7 separate regions of the Homo sapiens genome follow, and regions 1, 3, 4, 5, 6 and 7 are each linked to region 2. The links are contacts of gene promoters, found by promoter capture Hi-C in blood cells and fetal thymus (Javierre and others, 2016). All regions are on one chromosome and are shown on one strand. The core of a region is centred on a gene start or on the middle of the fragment in contact, and the rest is flanking DNA. Distances in the headings are between cores, read along the strand shown. Region 1 overlaps PKD1L1 (polycystin 1 like 1, transient receptor potential channel interacting). Region 2 holds the start of TNS3 (tensin 3). Region 3 overlaps PKD1L1 (polycystin 1 like 1, transient receptor potential channel interacting). Region 4 has its middle 9.4 kb from the start of LINC00525. Region 5 overlaps TNS3 (tensin 3). Region 6 overlaps PKD1L1 (polycystin 1 like 1, transient receptor potential channel interacting). Region 7 overlaps TNS3 (tensin 3).

Region 1 (2,746 bases), core at 35-2,534, 240 kb after region 2:
TCCAGTCCATAGGTATCATCTTTATTTATTTTTGCTTCTTTGCGATTTATTTGTTGAGCAAGTGGTTATTTGTACTATAGATTTCTGTCTTGCTTTCCAGGGTGATATCAACATACTCTTACTGTAAACTACAAGTTGGCAAAATAACTTCATCAGATTAAGATTGGACTGTTTTGGGTAGGTTGCCTCATAGATGATGGTGTTTTCCCACGAGGAAACACATAATGTCTGATGTTTCTCTCTCTCTCCTTCTCTCTTTTATATTGACCACTGTTAATGAGCAATGCCCAGATTCATTACTTCATTAAAACTGCAAAAATGGTCAGGCTCTAATTCTATTACCTGGTCCCCATTCATTAGCTGGAATTCCTCTCTAAAGAGAAATATCCCCCCTCCTGTTATGTGGTTTCCCAGGGGTATGGTCTGTATAGGAAAGGCAGGCTTTCACTGGCTTTTATAAAGTTGGTTTCTGAGTGTCCACCAACATTGATCAATTACATTGTGGGTGTTGTTACCAGCTCATGGCTTTAGATAGATTTCATGAACTTCAATTCAGTAGTTTCTAATCTTGATGTCAAATTATCCCATGTTTGACCAATGTGAGCCTCTTCAAACTGGCTTCTTGGTCCTCTGACAATGACTCTAGCAGTTATTAATTGCTCCCTTGCCTAAGAAACATTCCAGGTTCATCTTGTACATTTTCCATCACCAACTTCAAATCAGGAATCCCAGTTACTTCTAATTCTTTTTGGTGGACCAAATCTAGGTGCTAAAAGTGTGTGTTGCTTCTGGGCTGTTTCTAGGCCTTTTCTTGCTGGAAAAATCTAGGAAAATATTTTTAAAAACCCACATGATTCCATACCTATACTTTCAATTCAAATTCAGGACTGCAGAGTTTTGACTTCCTTGAACTCAAATCTGTACCTTCTTTCTCTCATATCAAGAATTCCACTTTTAAAGGATACCAGGAATGACAGAATTAGAAAATAACAGAATTCTTCATTTCCTTTACCCCACAATAAATCAACAATGAAAATAAAGATACTAACGCTCCACTAACAATATGATTGGTGAAAACAGCTTTAGAGTTTTTTCCCCTAGTTCTTTTCCGTCCTTAGAGACTAGGTTTATATGGTCAAATTTTTAACCTTAACACAGATTTAAAAAAATCTTATTCCTTCTCTCCCCATAAGTAACTATTATTATTTCCTAAAGGTGCCTGGATTGCCTTTCCCTTGTTTTATTTAGGGTGAGCGGATCTACAGGCACGCATATTCTTGTCCCCTTTCATTAAGCAGTGGGCAGAACAGCATACCCGCTTTCCTCTACCTGGCTTCCCTCCTGCAGCGAATCCTGCAGGCCTCTCCCTAGGAGCCTGGAGGGGTAGTCTTCATGCTTCTACATAGCTGGACACTACTACACTGTGTTCCTGTCCCTCCAGCAAGACGTGTGGGTTCTTTCTAGGATATTCTCATTACAAAAGGTCCCACATAAATTGGTTTGTGTGTGGGTATGTTCATGTTTTACTTACTGTGTCTGTAAGAGTGATTGTAAAAAGTGTGGATGCTGGATAAATCGTAAATGAATCTATCATTGTGTAGAGACTTCAAATTTCCCCCATAGTGGCTGTACCATTTTGCATTTACACCAGCACTGTGTGAAATGCTCTATTTGACATAGCCTCACTAACAGAGTATGTGGTCACATTTTTGGATTTTCACAGTTTAATTTGCAATTCTCTTACTGTAAGTGAAAGGGCCATTTGAACTTCTTTTATTCTGTGAACTCTCTGTTCACTTTTCCAGTCCACTTTTTTTTTGTTTTAAAGAGTTGCTGGTCCTTTAGGCCAGGTGTGGTGGCTCATGCCTATAATCCCAGCACTTTGGGAGGTTGAGGTGGGTGGATCACTTGAGGTCAGGAGTTCAAGACCAGCCTGACCTACATGGTGAAACCCTGTCTCTACTAAAAATACAAAAAATTAGCCGGGCATGGTGGCACATGCCTGCAATCTCAGCTACTTGGGAGGCTGAGGCAGGAGAATCGCTTAAACCTGAGAGGCGGGGGTTGCAGTGAGTTGAGATTGAGCCACTGCATTCCAGCCTGGGCAACAAGAGCGAAACTCTGTCTCAAAAAAAAAAAAAAAAGAATATTAAAACTTTGTTACAAGTATTTTTTCCTAGTTTGTCACTGCCATTTTATTTTACAAATAGTTTCTTTTTACGTAGGAGTTATTTCTTTCTCTTCTTCAAGTTTTATGTAATCCAATTTACTTTTATTTTCCCTTTTTGTGTCTGGATTTTAAGTCATAGGGAAGTTTTCCTCACTGAAATCTTAGAGAAACTTATACTTAAGATTATGCCTAAGTGTATTTTGTTGTATTTATTATTTGCTTTGTTGAATATGGTCTTGTATTAAATCTCTGACTTTTGCTTGTATATAAATATGATATTGGTTTTTGTCTTTTAATTTTATAACCTAATACTTTACTAGTTTTGCCTGTTTCCTAAATGCTTTCTCTGGGCCTGTTCTGCTTGGTTTGGATGCTTCCCCCAGCAGCGCCCCCAGCCACCCCACCCCAGAGGGCTACGTCCTGGCAGAGCTGGGTTTGGTTAGTTCTGAGGGCTGAGCTGGCCCAGCAGCTCCAGACCTCCAGACCTTGCACTCACCTGTGAACTTGACTCTGCAAACTCCTCCAAGATGCGCCCACCACACTCCCAGTGAACAACACCTACAGGAGCTTGGAGTT
Region 2 (2,700 bases), core at 164-2,663:
AAGAGAGAAGAACCAGAATCACCAGAACAAGTAAACCTCATTCAAAAGGGAAAGCATGAAAGCAATTTAAAAAATTAATATGCACAGACCAAAGCCTCAAGAAAATCTAAAATGTCAAAGGGTTGGTTAGTTCAGAAGGGCCATGCAATATTAATACAATGAGTTCTGCATTCATACTTTTCAGTATATTTTCAGAGTCCTCCATGATCATGCATTCAAATAGTGAAAAAAATGGGGGGAAAGCCAACCCGGAAGATCAAAGTGTGTGAATGCGCCCCAAGGAAGCCTGGGGGCTTCCCAGGGGGTTGTGACCACCCTCAGTAGTGCTCTCTGCTGGCCCCACACCCTGATGGCGCTTTGAGTTTTTCAACCACGCTGGAGTTCGGGTCATCTGCTGACACTGTCTGGAGAATGCCTGAGGAACGCCTGAATCTCTTCCCGCCACAGACACTCAAATCACTCCAAGCAAAGGACCCGGGACTCACATGTCAGGCCGCTGCACAGCACCGACACAGAGACCCCTGGGCCGTCCGGGACCCTCCCTCCTCCTGCTTGTCAGCGACAGCTCCCGCGTGCCAGGAGGCACATGCCACACAGCTGGCCCCCAGCCTGGGACAGCACCCCCCACCCCAGAATATCCCCCCACCCCGAGGTCCCGTCCTTCAGGGAAAAAAAGGAAGCGCGTAAAGACCCCCTGCCTCCCACCCACCAAAGGGAAAGGGAAAGAGACGCACTGGAGAGCTTGCCTAGAAAAAGTAGGAGAAGGGTCTTGAGCCTGCCCATTGAAGCCCCTAGCTGCGCTCTCCACCTGGAGTCTCGAGACGGAGTCCTAGGGAGCAAAGTCCGCTCGGTCCCGACAGCGACTGCGACATAGCTGCTCCGGTCTCTGCCCTCAGTCCAGGGCGCCCGGGCGCCACGGGTCCCACTCGAGTGGTCCTGCGCCCCAGCCAGTCCCCAAACCCAGCCAGTCAGCGCCCCCGTCCCCGGACTCCGGCGAAGCTGGCCCGCGCCCCAGCCCCTGTCCTGGGACTCCTGCCGAGCCCCCGCCCCCCACGCGCCGCAAACCCCGTACCCGCGCGCACCAAACCCCTTGCCCGTGCGCCCCCAACCGGGTCCCCGCGCTCCCTAACCTGGGTTCTCCCGTGACCCCATCCCCGCGCCCTGAGCTCCCGTACCCCGCGCTCCCCGAACTCTGTCTCCGCGCTCCCCGAACTCAGTCCCCGCGCCCCAGCTCCAGATCTCTGTGCTCCCCAAGCCTCGTTCCTGCGCCCGGAGCGCGAAAGCCCGCGCCGGGCCCGAAACAAAGAGGACCGCGGCGCGTGGCCGCGTTTCCTCCTTCCCCGGCCCCAGTACCTGGGGGAGCCTGAGGCGCGGTCCGGCAGGGCGATGGCCGCAACGAGGCTGGGCTCCGAGTAGCGCGCGGGCGGGCCCGTCCTCCTGGCTGGCTGCCGGCGCCCGCGGCAGGGCCCCCTCGAGGCGGCGCGGGCAATCGCCACGGCCGGCCCCCGCGCCCGCGCCCCGAGCCTGGCGGGTCACCTGGCCTCATCACCCTAACAATGCAGCGCGCCTCCAGGCGCCCTTCACCGGGGTCCCCCGCCCTGCCGAGGTGCGCCCTGGGACCTCCCTTCGCTGGCCGCAGAGAGGACCTGGAATTATCAGACCCATTGAGCAGCCCAGGCTCCAAGTGGTCTGGAGGCTTGCAGGTTCCGCCGGGCCGGTGTTAGAGTACCTGGGGAGGCGGGTTCGGATCCTGGTTCCTGCACAACCAGTTCATTCTTTCATTCAGCGCCTGTGATTAAGGTGCTCTCCGGGAGCAAGACCTACCCTCCCTCCTGTAGCTCATAGCCTAGTGGGAGTCGCGCATACATAAAGGAGCACAGCCGCTCCGGAAAGCCTAGGGTGCCGTAGAAGCCCCTGAAATACCCAGCTAATGAAGGGAGGAGGTCAGGGAAGTCTTTAGAAGTCACATGACTTCTTAAAATGCGCCGGGACAAATGAGCAGAATTTAGGCAAGCCAGGGGAAACCAGAAAAACGATCCCGAGCAGAGAGATTCTCAGAGGAGGAAAGGCCTATAGGTTGTCCATCCTGACTGTCCATCCCTGAGATTCAGATGGCCCTGAACTCAGTCGCTTAGCCTCAGTTTCCCCATTTGTGAGATCGGGGGAATGGAAAAAGTTTGCAGAAATCAGAAGTGCTCTTCCTCCAGGGAGGTCACAAGAGAAATTTCATCAGCGGTTTGTCCTGTGGTCCTTTCCAGGAAAACATCCTCCCCGCCAGCCTCTCACAGAAGAGACCTAGATTTCATCTGCCACGTGGAGCAGGCGGTCTCAGAATCCCACCCGGAGCAGGGTCCAGGGCAAGTCTTGGAGGACAGTCACCAAGAACTGCTTTGGATTCGGGAACAGAGCTGCCTAACCCATCCGCAGCCCTGGGGTCCTGCCCTGTTCCTCTGGCCCCTTCAGGGCAGCGGGGGAAGCAGGGAAAACAGCCTGTCAGAGATGGCAGAGAAACCGAGCAAGAATAATTATCCTGGAAAAGACTTTCAGAAGTAACCACCAGAAACTTCGAGTCCCCAGATCCAAACAGCTGAGAATGTGGGGCCTGAGCCACGCTCTGACTCCACTCCCACCACATGAGGAGAAACAAGAGCTGCTTTTCTGGAAGACTTGAACAACCCCTGCTGTGCTCTGGAAGGTAGT
Region 3 (2,952 bases), core at 319-2,818, 190 kb after region 2:
ATGCAAGGTACCAGGCTCCTCAGAAGTCCTTGATGTCTGCTGGCTAAAAAGAAAAAATGAAAAACATACTGAAACAACACCCCTCTCTCAGTGATTGACAGAACAAATAGGCAGAAAGGCAGCAAGTGCTGATCAGACCTGAACACCACCATCAGCTAACTTGACCAAGGTGACATTTACAGAACACTTTGCTCAACAACAGCAGAATACAAATATTTTAAAGTTCAAATGAAACATCTGCCAAGTTAGATCATATTTTGGGCCATTAAAACAAGCTTCAATAACATTCAAACGATTCAAGACACAGGATGTTCTCTGACCACAGCAGAATAAAATTAGAAATCAGCTACATAAGGACATCAGGAAAATCTCAAAATACATACAAACTAAATAATATACTTCCAAATCACCCATGAATCAAAGAATAAATCAAAAGGGAAATTAGAAAGTATTTTTATCTCAATAAAAATGAAAACATATCATTTTCATTCAGGGATGAATGCTAACGCAATACTCCGAGAGAAATCTGTAGCACTAAATGCCTATATTAAAAGAAGAAAGGTCTTAAATGACCTTAGCTCTTATGTGAAAGACTATAAAAAGAAAAACAACTTAAACTCAAAGTAAACAGAAAAAAGTAAATAATAAATAAATACTAAAGATCAAAGCAGAAACCAGTGCTGTAGATAACAGAAAAAAAAAAAAAATAGAGAAAACGAATGAAACCAAAAGCTAGTTCCTTGAGAAGATCAATTAAATTGACAAGCCTCTAGCCAGGATGATAACAACATATCAAAGACACAAATATGTTGTCTTTGAATAACAACAACAACAAAGACACAAATTGCCAATATCAGGAATGAGAGAGGTGACAACACTACACTTTTTACAGATAAAGGATAAAATGGAAATATTATGAACAACTTATTCCTATACATTTCACAGCTGAGATGAAATAGAAAAATTCCTTAATGATACACATTACCAAAGTTATCTCAAAAAGAAATAGATAAGCTGTATAGTCCTATACTTCTTTAAAAATTGAATTCATAGTTAAAAAGTTTCTAATAAAAAACTTCAATTCTAGATGGCATCTCTGGTGAATTCTATCAAACATTTAAGAAAGAAATAGTTCCAATTCTAGTCAAACCCATCCGGAAAACTGAAGCAGAGAGAATATTTCCAAATTTATTCTAGGAGGACAGCGTTATCCTGATACTAATATGAGATAAAGACATTACAAGAACAGTAACAAAAAAACAAAACCCAGGGTCCCCCATTGTCACTGGCTGCTTCTCCCTTGAGGAATTCTCCTCCAGGTCTCTCAGCTCCAGCTCTGATGCACCCTGATTTGCTCCAGCAGCTGACTCAGCATGGCCCCAAGCCTAGCGCATCTCCACACCTGTTTGCTCATTTGCTTTTACTGGATTGTGAGATGGCTGAGGAATTTTTTTCTTCATACCCCAGTGCTGAGAATGTAGTAGGTATTTGGTAAATATTATAGGATTCAGTTTTGAAGCTGGGAGGTAGGTTGAACATAAGTGTTACCAGAATCCAATTCAACCTGGAATGCTGTGATAAACATAGGAAGTCTAACAGGAATAATAATGAACTGTATTTATGACCACGCAATAAATAGCACCATTATGGAGAGAAAGGTACAGGAGCAAAGACATTGCTCCGCAATAAAATTTAAGGATGGGTAGGGAGGTGTTGAGACCTCCAAAGATCCTACTGGTTGACACTTAAATTCTTTTTTATTTTTATTTATTTATTTATTTTTTTTGAGAAGGAGTCTTGCTCTGTCACACAGGCTGGAGTGTAGTGGTGCAATCTTGGGTCACTGCAACATCCGCCTCCCAGGTTCAATCAATTCTCCCGCCTCAGCTTCCTGAGTAGCTGGGATTACAAGCATGCGCCACCACATTCAACTAATTTTTGTATTTTTAGTAGAGATGGGGTTTTGCCATGTTGGCCAGGCCGGCCTGGAAATCCCAGCCTCAAGTGATCCGTCCACTTCAGACTCCCAAAGTGCTGGGATTACAGGCGCGAGCCACCACACCCGGCTGACACTTAAATTCTGACTATCCCAAATGATTAGTCTAAATTAATCATGATAATTCCATTTCACCATGATCAATTTAGGAATGAGTTTGAGGGAAAATATTCTTGGGGACTTCCTGAAAAAGTTTCCTCATATCTAATGATAAGACCGAAGGAGATGGTCTCCTCCTTCCATGGACATTTCATCTTTGGATGTGATCCCTGGACCTGTAGCAGATATCCTGCAACCAAGCAGGGTGTCCTCCATCCTGAGGCAAAGCCAGCACACAGCAGAATGCAGAGATGGCATCTGCCCTACCTCTCAACTTCTGGTTTTGTAGATAACACATTTCCTTGCAGTTTCAGTCAATTAGGGTCATGTTTTACATCATTTACAGTCAAAACTATTGTCAAAGGTTATAAATAATAATATAATTGGGGGCTGCATTAGTGTAAGTATAGTTTCTAAGGCAAGTGTGAAGTGTGAGAAATTAGTTAGGTAAAAGCCATGCTGCTGCTATAACAAAGAGCCCCCAGATTCCTCAGAGCAAAACAGGATCCAGGTTTATTTTTCACATAAGCAGGGGGAAGTTGGCACAGTTCTCATCCTAGAAAGGCAGCTCTGTCATCTTCAGCACAAGGCTTCTAATCTTGCTCCAGGTATCACTCACACTTGGGAAAGAAAAAAGAGCATGAAAAGGCACATGCCTGATGCCTTCAGGAGCAAGTTCAGAAGCAGGACACATTGCTCTCTATAGGGGCTGTGAGGAGCTGCAGGGGAGGTGGCGTCAGTGCCTGGGCAGTAGCTGGGGCCTGGACAAAGCTTGGGCAGTGAGGGACAGACAGAGATGGATGCTGGTAGCCATCAACATTTAGCATAGCACAAATTTTTCCTAATCATGGTACTCC
Region 4 (2,909 bases), core at 353-2,852, 170 kb after region 2:
GACTCCACCACGCCCAGCTAATTTTTTGTATTTTTAGTAGAGACGGAGTTTCACCATGTTGGCCAGGATGGTCTCTATCTCTTGACATCGTGATCTGCCTGCCTCGGCCTCCCAAAGTGCTGGGATTACAGGCGTGAGCCACCACACCCAGCCTCTTTAGGATACGTTTAAGCAGGTATAATTACTGAATCAAAAGTAATGTCCGTCTTAGATTTGCACAAGATTTTGTTGAGGGGTGAGTGTCATTTCAGAGTTTCCTGGTGAAGTATGTTCACCACCTAAATGTTAAGAGATAATTATGGCAAGTAGTATTTTAAGCTTTTCAGATAAAGTAGTAGTAATCGTGATGTGAAAGAATCCCATCAAGCAGGGCTGGCTGTTCTGTTGAATTTCACTTTCCATTTTGGAACAAAGTATTTGAGCTCATTTTCTTGGAACTGATTACTGTGCCTTGGGGCAGCATGGTACATAAAGCAGTCGATGTTGTATAAATATATTGCGCAGCTTCATTGCAGAAACCTCATCTCGGAGGAGGCACAGGTTTTCCAGATTGAAAGATAAATTAGAGACACAACAGGAGGTGGCCTTCAAAGATGTGGTTCTTGTGGTGGGCTACCACAAGGAGCTAGAGCAAGGCAAAGAAGGGCTTAGAGCAAGCCAAAGATGATTAGGAAAACACAGAGTGATAACTGAAAGAGAGAACGTGTGGTCCTGGGGAGGACGGTGATGAAGACAGGGTAAACTCTTGTGTGCCTACCAAGAACCTCTAGGGATCTCTAGGTCACAGAAGGCTGCCCTCTCCCTCAAACGAGAAGTGTCCTCCCTGGAGGAGGCTCTGCTTGTGAGGTGGTGTGGCTGATGGGCCCAGGCAATGCCAGACTCTCTTGCTGTAGATACCAACCCAGATTTACTGGGGAAATGTACAAGCAGAACTGGCAAGAAAATTAGGTGCGCTTTCCTCCAAGAACTTATATGACAGGCTGGGAACAGTGGGGATAACCTGGGGTCCTGGTGGTGGGAGATGAAGCCAGCTGGACTTCCTGGGTCGAGTGGGGACTTGGAGAACTTTTCTGTCCAGCTAGAGGATTGTAAATGCACCAATCAGTGCTCTGTGTCTAGCTAGAGGATTGTAAATGCATCAATCAGCACTCTGTAAAAACGCACCAGTCAGTGCTCTGTGTCTAGCTAAAGGATTGTAAATGCACCAATCAGCACTCTGTAAAAACGTACCAATCAGTGTTCTGTGTGTAGCTAAAGGATTGTAAGCACACCAATCAGCACTCTGTAAAATGGACCAATCAGCAGGATGTGGGCGGGGACAAATAAGGGAATAAAAGCTGGCCACCCCAGCCAGCAGCAGCAGCCCACCGGGGTCCCCTTCCATGCTGTGGAAGCTTTGTTCTTTCACTCTTCACAGTAAATCTTGCTGCTGCTCACTCTAGGGGTCCACGCCACCTTTAAGAGCTGTAACACTCACCATGAAGGTGTGCAGCTTTATTCTTGAAGTCAGCAAGACCAAGAACCCACCGGAAGAAACCAACTCCTGACATAGTAGGAAATGGAAGCCATGCACACCCCTTTCCCATGGGGAAGCAGAAGGAATCCTCCACCCCTGCTGTGTCTCAGCAAACCACAGAGGTGCCAGGTGGCCACTCCTCCACCACCTCTGTGTGAGAGAAGCCACTTCAGATCCACACTCAATGGTGAGAACCAAAATAAACAAATTGATCGGAACTACAGGACTCTACTTCATTTCTTTTCCTAGAAAGGATTTGATTTAACATTTACTTTTTCTCATTTTTTTTTGTTTCAAAGCTTATAAAAACATTGAGAGGCTAATACATTGAATACCTATATAAATGTCACCTGATTCACCAAATGTTAATGTTTTTCAACATTTGTGCTCTCTCTCTCAATCTCTTTCTCTTCCTTCTCCCTGTCATATATATTTAAACATATCTTCACTGATAGATAATAATTGTACATATTTCTGAGCTACAGGTAGTATTTTGCCACATGTATATACAATGTGTAATAATCAAATCATGCTAATTAGGATATTCTTCACCTCAAACATTTATATTTTCTTTGTGTTGGAAGCATTTCAGATCCACACTCTAGCTATTTTGATACATATTATAAATTATTGCTAACTAGTCACCCTACTGTGTGACCAAACACTAGAACTTATTCCTTCTTCTATTATATTTTTGTACTCATGAATTGACCTCTCTTCATCTTCCCCCTCCCACTACCCTTTCTAGCCTCTGGTAACCCCCATTCCACTCTCTATCCCCATGAGATTCACTTTTTTTTTTTTTTTTGAGACAGAGTCTTGCATGTCCCCCAGGCTGGAGTGCAGTGGCGTGAGTTTGTCTCACTGCAACCTCTGCCTCTCATGTTCAAGCAATTCTCCTGTCTCAGCCTCCTGAGTAGCTGGGATTACAGGTGCCCGTCACCATGCGTGGCTAATTTTATTATTTTTAGTAGTGACGGGGTTTCACCATGTTGGCCAGGCTGGTCTCGAACTCCTGACCTCAAGTGATCTGCCCACTTTGGCCTCCCAAAGTGCTGGGATTACAGGCGTGAGCCACCACACCTGGTCGAGATCCATCTTTTTAGCTCCCACATATGAGTGAGAACGTGTGATATTTGTCTTTTTGTGCCTGATTTATTTCATTTAACATAATGACCTCCAGTTCCATCTGTGCTGCCACAAATGACAGAATTTAATTCTTTATAATGACTGAATAATATTCCCTTCTGTATACGTACCACATTTTCTTTATCCATTCATCTGTGGATGGACATTTAGGTTGATTCTCTATCTTGGCTGTTGTGAACAGTGTGACAGTAAACATGGGAGTGCAGATACACCTTTGATATTCTAATTTCCTTTCTTTTGAATA
Region 5 (2,763 bases), core at 185-2,684, 230 kb before region 2:
TCCATGCCTATATATTTTTCTGTTCAGTTAAGAAGTCAAATCCAGGAAAAGAGAAGAAAAAGGAGACCTCATGGGAGCAGGAGAGAGCTGCCACCACACAGATGGCTGTCACCTCTGGAAGGAGCTGATAAGGGGACAAGAGGGAATTTGCCAGCACTGGAGAGCACCTGCAGGGCTCTGGGCGATCCGCCCTCCCACCCCCAGCTCCCCAACGTACCCCTTCTCAGAAAAACCAAGGAGAAAGGGAACAAAACCCAAGCTCCCACACAGGGATGTTCACGGGCAAAGGGCAGCTCCCAAAGCCCTGGGGTGGGGCAGGGGGGCACCTGCATCTGGCTGCACCCATGGCACACACACCCTGATCTCTCACACCTGTGCCCACCCTGCTCCCAGCCTGAGGCCCAGGTGCTGGGGAAGAGCTGCCCTTACTTCCCTGCCAGTTCCCAGCCAGGAAAAAAAAAAAAAAATCCTGCATCCTCTCCTTACAAAGGTCATGAGTACTCAGTGCAGAAATCTCAGGCCCCTTGAAACCCCCAGTGAACACAGACCCCGGTGATCTGCAGGTGATGTGCAGCTTCACCCACTCCATGCAGCTGGGGTCTCTGTGGAGGGAGGGACAGGCAGTGGCTTTTTCTTTACACAGTCTTGTGCCCCTCTTGTCGCGGTGACACGCTCATTGTCCACCAAAACATGACATGGTAACATGGTCTCCAAAGGTCACATGACTGGACGCTGCCCATCTCTTTGGGCAGTCCCCACACCAGGCATTTAGCTGTCTTCGCCCAAGCCTCCTTCCCTCCAGACACTGGGTGCTACCCACCCAGAGCCTCGGGAACCACGTGACCTTGAGTATAAAATGGGACACATGCCCCAAAGTCCCCTACACTGCCACTCCCAAAGACCAGCATGTTTCCTCATTTAGCAGTCTCACTGTTATTCACGGGTGGAGCCGGCGTCAAGGACAGATAAGGAAACGTGCTGAGGGCTGCCCAGCCAGCAAGTTGCGCAGGGTCACCTGAGACTCCGCCACGCCCAGCGGGATCTGGGATTCACCACAGGGTGCAAAAGGACACCGAGCCTGCGAGGCAGGAGGACGCTCAGTCATTCCGGCCCCACAGGAGGAGCTGGGGATGGTGGGGCCTCAGCCCCAGGTGCATCCTATGACGTACCTTATCCAAAGCCACCACAACAGGGTGGGGGACGGTCCTGACAGGGAATCCTCACGTGCTCTGAGGAAAGAGCAGGAAAGCCAGTCCTTGACTGGGGGCACCCAGGGGCCTCGTGAGAAGGGGATGCATCGCCGTCAGAGCCCTGGAGAATCAGGGATTCAGGCCAAGACACTGGGTGCTGTACTAAACACATGTGGGACTGAACTCAGCCCAGCCTGGGGGTCAGCACTGTTGCCATCAATTCACCCCTGAGCAGTCTGAAGTGCAGGAGAGGGCTTCTCAGATCGCTTAGCCAGAAAATGTTTTTTAAATTTTGTTTAAAACACCCACAAAGCTCTTCGGCAACTTTCCACCTTGTCCAAATACACTGAACTCCCAATTATGTAAACTAATTGAGAGTGTAAAATAACACATCCTGATAGGTAAGTCAGTACTTATGTTGACCCTGAGCTGTGATTCTGTGATTCAGACTGCTCTTGGAGACTGATCTTTGCCAGCGCACGGCCTGGCAGATCCCAGGCCCTGAGGCTCTGCTGGGAAGTGGGATGAGGGAGGGGAAGGAAGATGGGTCAAGTGTTCAGGAGCGGACACCCACCATGCTGCCCACTCACACACTTCATGTCACTGCATTCTCTCCACTGTGGGGTCACATAGCCCACTCTGCCCTGGTGAAATAAAGCCAGCACCCAGGTGGAAGGCAGCCCATGGGGTCGCCTGCCTCTGCCTCTGATAACCAATACGTGACTGTTGGCTGTCCTCTAAATTCCACAGCAGGGTCACAAATCTTAGAACCACCCTGCGGCACGTTCCAGCCTCAATGAGCCAAGGGCCAGCTCTCCTGGAGGCTGGGACACGCACCTAAGTTGAGAACTGCAAATATACAACAGTGGTTCTCAAAGGCCATTGTCCACCTTTTATCACTAAAATCCTAAAGCTCGGGCCTCACCTGTGAAGTCAGAACCTCCAGCGGTGAGACCTAGGTGTCAGTATTTTTAAAAACTCCCTAGTGTTTCCAACACACAACCAAGCTCAAGAATCACAGCAGGTCTCAACCCTGAATTAGCACTGCATTATTTGGGGAGCATTTTTAAAGCAAGTCTGACATCCAGGCCCCACCAGGGCCAACTCAATCTGCCACCCTCTGGAGGTAGAAGCAGGTACCCACATTTTTAGCGTCTGCATTTTTAAAGCTCCCCAGGTGACTCCAACATGCAAGACAAAGTGTCCAACCTCTGTTCTAAAAGAGACGGAATCCGCTCCCTGAGCAAATCTTCAGGATGCAATATTGACTAAGACAGTAGACCTTAGGTGCTCTTACACAAAAGTAACTAGGTAAAGTGGTGGATATGTCCATTGGTTTGACTGTAGTGATCCTCTCCCTATGTATAGATATAACAAACAAAATATCATGTTAAACACCTTAAATAAATACGATGATAAATAAGTTAATTAAAACATAGAAAAAACAGGGGCCGGGCACAGTGGCTCACGCCTGTAATCCCACCACTTTGAGAGACTGAGGAGGGTGGATCTTTTGAGCCCAGGAGTTCCAGACCAGCCTGGGCAACATGATGAAACCCAGTCTCTACAGAAA
Region 6 (2,831 bases), core at 176-2,675, 220 kb after region 2:
GATGATGCTACTTTACGAGCTTTTGGTAAAATAGTGATTTCTTGGTGAAAAAAAGCAAAATCAGGAAAATACCTCTCCTGAATTGAACTAAATGGCAGTAAGATGATCTCAGCAATGGAAATTCATTGTATTATAAAGGTTGTTTTCAGTATCTAACTTTGGAGACTGAGATTATCAACGCGATGTGCATGCCCATATGTAAAGTCTGTGTCTCAGTTTCAGTGTCCCCTGGTGAACCATTCTGAGCTGTGGGTGAGCCTCAGGAGAGAGGCCTGTGCCTGTGCCTGGGAGACCAGAAAGGGTCTTGGGCTCAGCAAGTTGTTGTGCCCTCAACATGTGCTCTATAAGCCTCCAGGTGGTTTATTTCTTCACTGCAGGCTGTAAGCTGTTAGCTCAAAAGCCTACTGGTAACAAACTCGAATTTTTACACATCCAATTGTTTAAAAAATAACCCAAACAGGGCTGGGCGCAGTGGCTCATGCCTGTAATCCCAGCACTTTGGGAGGCCAAGGCAGGCGGATCATGAGGTCAGGAGATTGAAACCATCCTGGCTAACATGGTGAAACCCTGTCTCTCCTAAATTACAAAAAAAAAAAAAAAAAAAATTAGCTGGGTGTGGTGGTGGGCACCTGTAGTCCCAGCTACTCGGGAGGCTGAGGCAGAAGAATGGCGTGAATCCGGGAGGCGGAGCTTGCAGTGAGCAGAGATTGCGCCACTGCACTCCAGCCTGGGCGACAGAGCAAGACTCCGTCTCAAAAAAAAAAAAAAAAACACCCAAACAAACATTTTAGCCATTTAGAGCCTGTCAGCTTTACACACCCTGCAAAACCTCAGGGGACAGCTGTTACCCACTGATAATGTTATAAGGCCCCAAGCTGCTGCTGGCTTCAGGAGCTTTCTGACCCAGAGCCTCCCCTCCATGCTGCTAAGCAGCATCGTCTAAGGGGTAAGCTCTCTCTCTGCTGCCCCTCTCCCCTGAGATCGCCCTTGCTCTTCTTCCTTTTTGGATGGTTCTTGGCCCCTACGCTGTAAACCTGTGGACAGTTTCATAGCATGAAGTATGAGGGAGTTCCCCCACATGGAAACACTTCAAAACATTACCCAGATAAAGCTTGTGTGTGTTATCATCTCTTGTGGTCATATGTTTGTTCTTGATTGGTCCCCAAATCCCTCGAACCCCTCACAAAATTTCAGAACTCTGCAAAGATGCTCAGGAGCCTGAAAGGGTAGGCCATTGGTGTGTAGGTCTGAGGCCTCCTGGATTTACCAGCAACACACCCATGGCAGACAGCAAGACCTGACTCTTCCACCCAGAGACCTCAATGCAATATTGCCTGCCTGTCTCAGAAGATAGCATCCAGGTGCCTAAGCACGACATTCAAGGCCCTCCATTCCTGACTCCAACCATCCTTTTCAACATAATGCCCACTTGACCCAGAACTCCAGCATGGCCCTCCCTGCATGCCCCCTGTCTAAAATGCTGCTCTCAGCAGTCATCACCATGAGTGGAACTGCTCATCAAGGCTCACTCTCCTGTTGTATGAAGATTTCCTGGTCTCCCTAGGAAGAATAAATGAGTCTCTGATCTAAGTTTCTTGCTCTTTGAGGACACTTCTAGTTAGGCTTTAAAATTGCCTATCATTGTGTAGGATCTGTATGCTGAGAACTATAAAACAGTGATGAAAAAAATCAAAGAGTATCTAAATAAATGGAGAGAAATACAGAATTCTAGGATCAAAAAAGCTTAATATTATTAGGATGCCAATTCCCCCCAAATTTGATTTATAATTCCACAGCAAGTTCAATCAAAACACCAACATGATTTTTTAAAAAGATAGTAACAAGATGATTCTAAAACATATTGAAAGGCAAAAGAGCTAGAACACCTACAGTCAAAACAGAACAAAGCTGGAGGACTCATCCATGCTACTTTAAGATTTGCCACAGAGTGAAAAAGACCTCATGGGATTGGCTAAAGGAAAGATCAATGGAGTAGAATAGAGAACCCAGATATAGATCCACACAGATACAGTCAATTGCTTTTTGACAAAGTTGTAAAGCCAATTCAATGGAGTAAATATTCTTCAAAAAAATTGTGCTGGAAAAATTGGATATTCATTTATAAAAAACAGGAACTCTGTTCCATACCTCACATCTTACATTAAAATTAGCTTAAAACAGATGATTAACCTAAATGTAAAACATAGAACTATAAAAATTCTAGAAGAAAGGCCACGTGCAGTGGCTCACGTCTGTAATCCCAGCACTTTGGGAGGCTGAGGCGGGAGGATCACGAGGTCAGGAGTTCGAGACCAGCCTTACCAACATGACGAAACCCTGTCTCTACTAAAAATACAAAATTAGCTGGGTGTGGTGGCACACGCCTGTAATCCCAGCTACTCAGGAGACTGAGGCAGGAGAATCACTTGAACCTGGGAGACAGAGGTTGCAGTGATCTGAGATCACGCCACTGCACTCCAGCCTGGGCGACAGAGTGAGACTCTGTCTCAAAAAAAAAAAACAAAAAAACCAAAAACAAAGAAACAAAAAAAATTCTAGAAGAAAATAATAGGAGAAAATATGTGACCTTGGGTTTGGCAATTCATTTGAGCCAGGACACCAACAGCAAAATCCATAAAAGAAAACATTGAAAAACTGGCCTTTATCAAAATTTACAACTTCTGCTCTGTAGAGATGCTGTTAAGAGAATAAAAGGAGAAGCTACAGATTTACAAATCACATATCCAATTTAAAAACTGTATTCAAAATATAAAAATTGCCACAATTATTTGTATATGCCAGTCTTCCCCTATGGACTGTGAGCTCCCTGA
Region 7 (2,917 bases), core at 56-2,555, 200 kb before region 2:
CCCCCACTGTCTCCACCGTTTGCTCCTCTCCCAACTTTCTTTCCAAGGACTCATCCTCCTGAGCTGACATCCCTACCTGTCCACCACACTGAGCCTGTGTGATCCCTGCTCCAATGTCAGGCCCCTCCCCACCCACATGGGCAGACAGGCCCGTCCCAGGGGGTCTCTGGAGGGGCAGCTGTGTGCCTAGAGGCCGGGAAGGGGCAGCCTGTGCCTCCTGCACTCCACTTCAGAACACTTTCACCCAAAACTCATTTCTCTCTGGAAACTGGTACCCCTGGCTACAGCGTTCTCCAGCCCTGCGGGCTGCCATTGCCCCTCACTTCCCAGCCCATCCCCCAAACGTCCATGCCTCCCTTGGTCCAGGTTCAAACACTCTCATCACCGGCATTTCTGTGGCTTCTCCTGGGAAACCATCAACATTTTATTGAGGCCCTGGCCTTGACTCTTTGGACTTTAGATAACTTTCTTTGGTTTGACTTTAGAATTTCTCATGACATACCCTCAACTTCCACCAAACTTTGAAAGCCTTGAGCTCTTCAGGAGTGGTGGCCAGGACTCTCCTTTCTCTAGCAGCCGCTACAGCTCCCTGGCTCCTGCTCTTCTCTGCATGTATCCAGCCCTTCCCTCAGCACAGTGGAGTCACAGCCAATGTATGTTTAACTCCAGCACCAAATTTAAGACATCGAGGGCAACACAGATCCATGGTGCTTCCTCTCCTAGCCCATCTAGACCCACAAGGCCTGCTGTCTCCCTCGCCTGTGGCCCACGTCCATGCCCCTGCTGATGTGCATGCCTCTGAAATCACAGAGGCCGTAACAGTGTGGCGTCCACACATCACTGGGCACACCACACTGCTCACCCAACAACCACCTGTTGCCAGGGGAAGCTCCTCCAAGCTGTCCCAGCTCTCAACACCTCCACTCCCCAGACTGTTGTCCACTCCCAACAGACAACCTCGCCTGCCTTGTACAGGTCAAGTGACGCCACAGCCAGTGAACTCACTCCCAGTCTGCTCTCTACCCTTCTCTGCATCCTGGCTCCTGCACCAGGCACCCTGCTTTGGACACACTCATGGTGCTCTCAGTCTCCTGCCTCTGTCAATCCAGTCCCTGCCTGAACTGAGCTCAGCACATCAGCAGAAGGAGATTCACAGCCGGCGACCAAGCCCCCACTCTTGGCTTCACCAACTAGCCCTCTGACCCCTCAGTGTGGTAAAGATTAGATATGTTAATGCAAGCTGCATGCTCGGAAGGTTGTGCAGCTCGTGAGCAGCACTCAGCAAGGGTGAGCTCTGACAACAACAACCATTAGCCATTCCAGCCCTGTCCTGGCCTCTGCACGGAGCTGTGCCATCCAATTCAGCTCTGTATCTGCAGCATCCAGCACTGCCGATGCTCAGAGAGGCAGGGAGGAGATGGAGACTGCATCCTGGATCCTACAGAGCCTGCCTGACAAGCACACGTGGCCTCTGGTTTTCTTTCATGAGCTTCCCAGAAGGTGACACTCTGCCTTCACTCCCCAGGTGACCTATTGGAATCCTCCGATTTATGATTAACAAGAGAGCAATATATTACATGTACAGGAATAAAGAATGAACTCCCAATACTACGAGAAAGATGGTTTCCTCGCAGCCTCTTCCCACCCTCAGGAAAGCACCCATAGTGCCCATCACTCGGTGGCTCCCCCGCCGCTTTTCCTTCTGCCTCATCCTAGTCAGGGGCCCAGCAGCATCCCAGACTCACTGCTACGAGTTCAGGGGCAATGTATGGCTACTGCTGCCACCAAAGGACGGCTGTTGAGATCTTGGCAGAATTCCCACAATCAATCAACACCAAATCTTGCTATTGCTCTAACCGTTTGGCCTAATTTCAGTGAGAATATATCCCAGGTCATAAATTAGCTCACATTCACACTGACAAAAATAAATACTATTGAATTTTCATAGTATAATTTCCCATAGACTGTCAACACCATGAATCCTAAATTAATTCAACTTTCCATAGTGAAGTCTGAAAGACTACTATGTCAAAGGGTGTATTTTCCTTGTTAAGAAATCATCACTATGCACTTATAAAGAAACACTAAACACATCTCTGGCTCTTGCTATGTGGAAGAAAACTTCCTGGGAGCAGTTGTACCCTCCACCTAGGCCCTATCAACTGGAGGGGGTCCCCCCACATCCACAACAGGCAGGTGCAGGCGGAGCGCACACAGGACATTTGCTGGGGACGCCCTCCTCCTGTCCACAGAAACCTGTTTTCCCAGCTCCTGGGGTCAATGGCTTTCCCTGCACTTCGCATCAGTCTCTCGGGCCCTAGGGATTTAAATCTGGGCTCCCAGCTCCAGAGCAACTGTCACTGGGTGTCCACCCTCGACAGGCCTTGACCTTGGCTCCCTCTCTGTGACATGCTCTAATAACACTCCTGGCTCACATAGCAAAGTGGTCACCCTGTCTCTTACCCCGATCCATGGACCTCCATGCCAGGTCTCCCCGACAGACAGCCAGGCAGGCTCTAGGTATATGGCTGTGCTGAGGCAACGAGCCGAGGCGGTCTCAGCTTTGCTCAGCCTGGCATGCGTCCCCATCCAGCACAGTGTCCACAGGGGGAAAGGAGTGCTGTGAAAACCAGCTTTCATCCCCAAAGTAGGTCAGAATTGCTCCTATCGGCAAGATAAACTGAGCAAGTCTGAAGATCCATTAAAGCTCGCTTTTCTTACATAACAGCACAAGCTGCCATTATATCAACCCTGTTTTTCAAGAAATAGCTGGATGTTTTACATAAAATATCCCTGCAATCTGTGCTATGTTAAAAAATTTAAGTAAGGAACACACCCACTAGTCTCTGACACCTATGCCTTCTACCTCACATGCCCTGCCCTCCATGGCATCTTAGATAACAGTAACAGAATACAA

The links. The method cuts DNA at HindIII sites, captures the fragments that hold promoters and counts their contacts. A CHiCAGO score of 5 or more calls a contact.
Region 1: a contact is called between a fragment that was not itself captured here and the fragment with the promoter of TNS3 in region 2, in 5 of 17 cell types (total B cells, M2 macrophages, M0 macrophages and 2 more). The highest score is 18.5, in total B cells.
Region 3: a fragment that was not itself captured here is called in contact with the fragment with the promoter of TNS3 in region 2 in 9 of 17 cell types (total B cells, naive B cells, M0 macrophages and 6 more); the score reaches 23.1 in total B cells.
Region 4: a fragment that was not itself captured here is called in contact with the fragment with the promoter of TNS3 in region 2 in 3 of 17 cell types (total B cells, naive B cells and M0 macrophages); the score reaches 14.9 in total B cells.
Region 5: a fragment that was not itself captured here is called in contact with the fragment with the promoter of TNS3 in region 2 in 1 of 17 cell types (total B cells); the score reaches 5.0 in total B cells.
Region 6: a fragment that was not itself captured here is called in contact with the fragment with the promoter of TNS3 in region 2 in 9 of 17 cell types (total B cells, M0 macrophages, naive B cells and 6 more); the score reaches 24.6 in total B cells.
Region 7: a fragment that was not itself captured here is called in contact with the fragment with the promoter of TNS3 in region 2 in 1 of 17 cell types (total B cells); the score reaches 5.9 in total B cells.

Annotation. Positions count from the first base shown.
Region 1 is chr7:47,823,404-47,826,149 of GRCh38, forward strand. All of the region lies in intron 45 of PKD1L1 (polycystin 1 like 1, transient receptor potential channel interacting), which reads right to left. Among named protein-coding and RNA genes, the nearest start is that of PKD1L1-AS1, 29 kb to the left of the region's middle. The HindIII fragment of the contact is 4,787 bases long and covers 1-2,746 here.
Region 2 is chr7:47,580,698-47,583,397 of GRCh38, forward strand. TNS3 (tensin 3) reads right to left here and starts at 1,414. Exons shown (of 31, transcript NM_022748.12): 1 at 1,354-1,414. RefSeq lists enhancers at 750-1,287, 1,288-1,825. The HindIII fragment of the contact is 9,706 bases long and covers 1-2,700 here.
Region 3 is chr7:47,775,124-47,778,075 of GRCh38, forward strand. It overlaps PKD1L1 (polycystin 1 like 1, transient receptor potential channel interacting), which reads right to left. Exons shown (of 57, transcript NM_138295.5): 57 at 1-43. The coding sequence ends at 20. Among named protein-coding and RNA genes, the nearest start is that of LINC00525, 15 kb to the left of the region's middle. The HindIII fragment of the contact is 2,591 bases long and covers 274-2,864 here.
Region 4 is chr7:47,750,650-47,753,558 of GRCh38, forward strand. No RefSeq gene overlaps it. Among named protein-coding and RNA genes, the nearest start is that of LINC00525, 9.4 kb to the right of the region's middle. The HindIII fragment of the contact is 421 bases long and covers 1,393-1,813 here.
Region 5 is chr7:47,354,156-47,356,918 of GRCh38, forward strand. The region is part of intron 17 of TNS3 (tensin 3); the gene reads right to left. It overlaps LOC124901629 (a long non-coding RNA gene), which reads right to left. Exons shown (of 2, transcript XR_007060319.1): 1 at 1-2,763. Among named protein-coding and RNA genes, the nearest start is that of SNORD151, 110 kb to the right of the region's middle. The HindIII fragment of the contact is 8,931 bases long and covers 1-2,763 here.
Region 6 is chr7:47,796,246-47,799,076 of GRCh38, forward strand. All of the region lies in intron 54 of PKD1L1 (polycystin 1 like 1, transient receptor potential channel interacting), which reads right to left. The region is part of intron 1 of PKD1L1-AS1 (PKD1L1 antisense RNA 1); the gene reads left to right. Among named protein-coding and RNA genes, the nearest start is that of PKD1L1-AS1, 2.4 kb to the left of the region's middle. The HindIII fragment of the contact is 632 bases long and covers 1,110-1,741 here.
Region 7 is chr7:47,384,091-47,387,007 of GRCh38, forward strand. All of the region lies in intron 16 of TNS3 (tensin 3), which reads right to left. Among named protein-coding and RNA genes, the nearest start is that of SNORD151, 79 kb to the right of the region's middle. The HindIII fragment of the contact is 5,773 bases long and covers 1-2,917 here.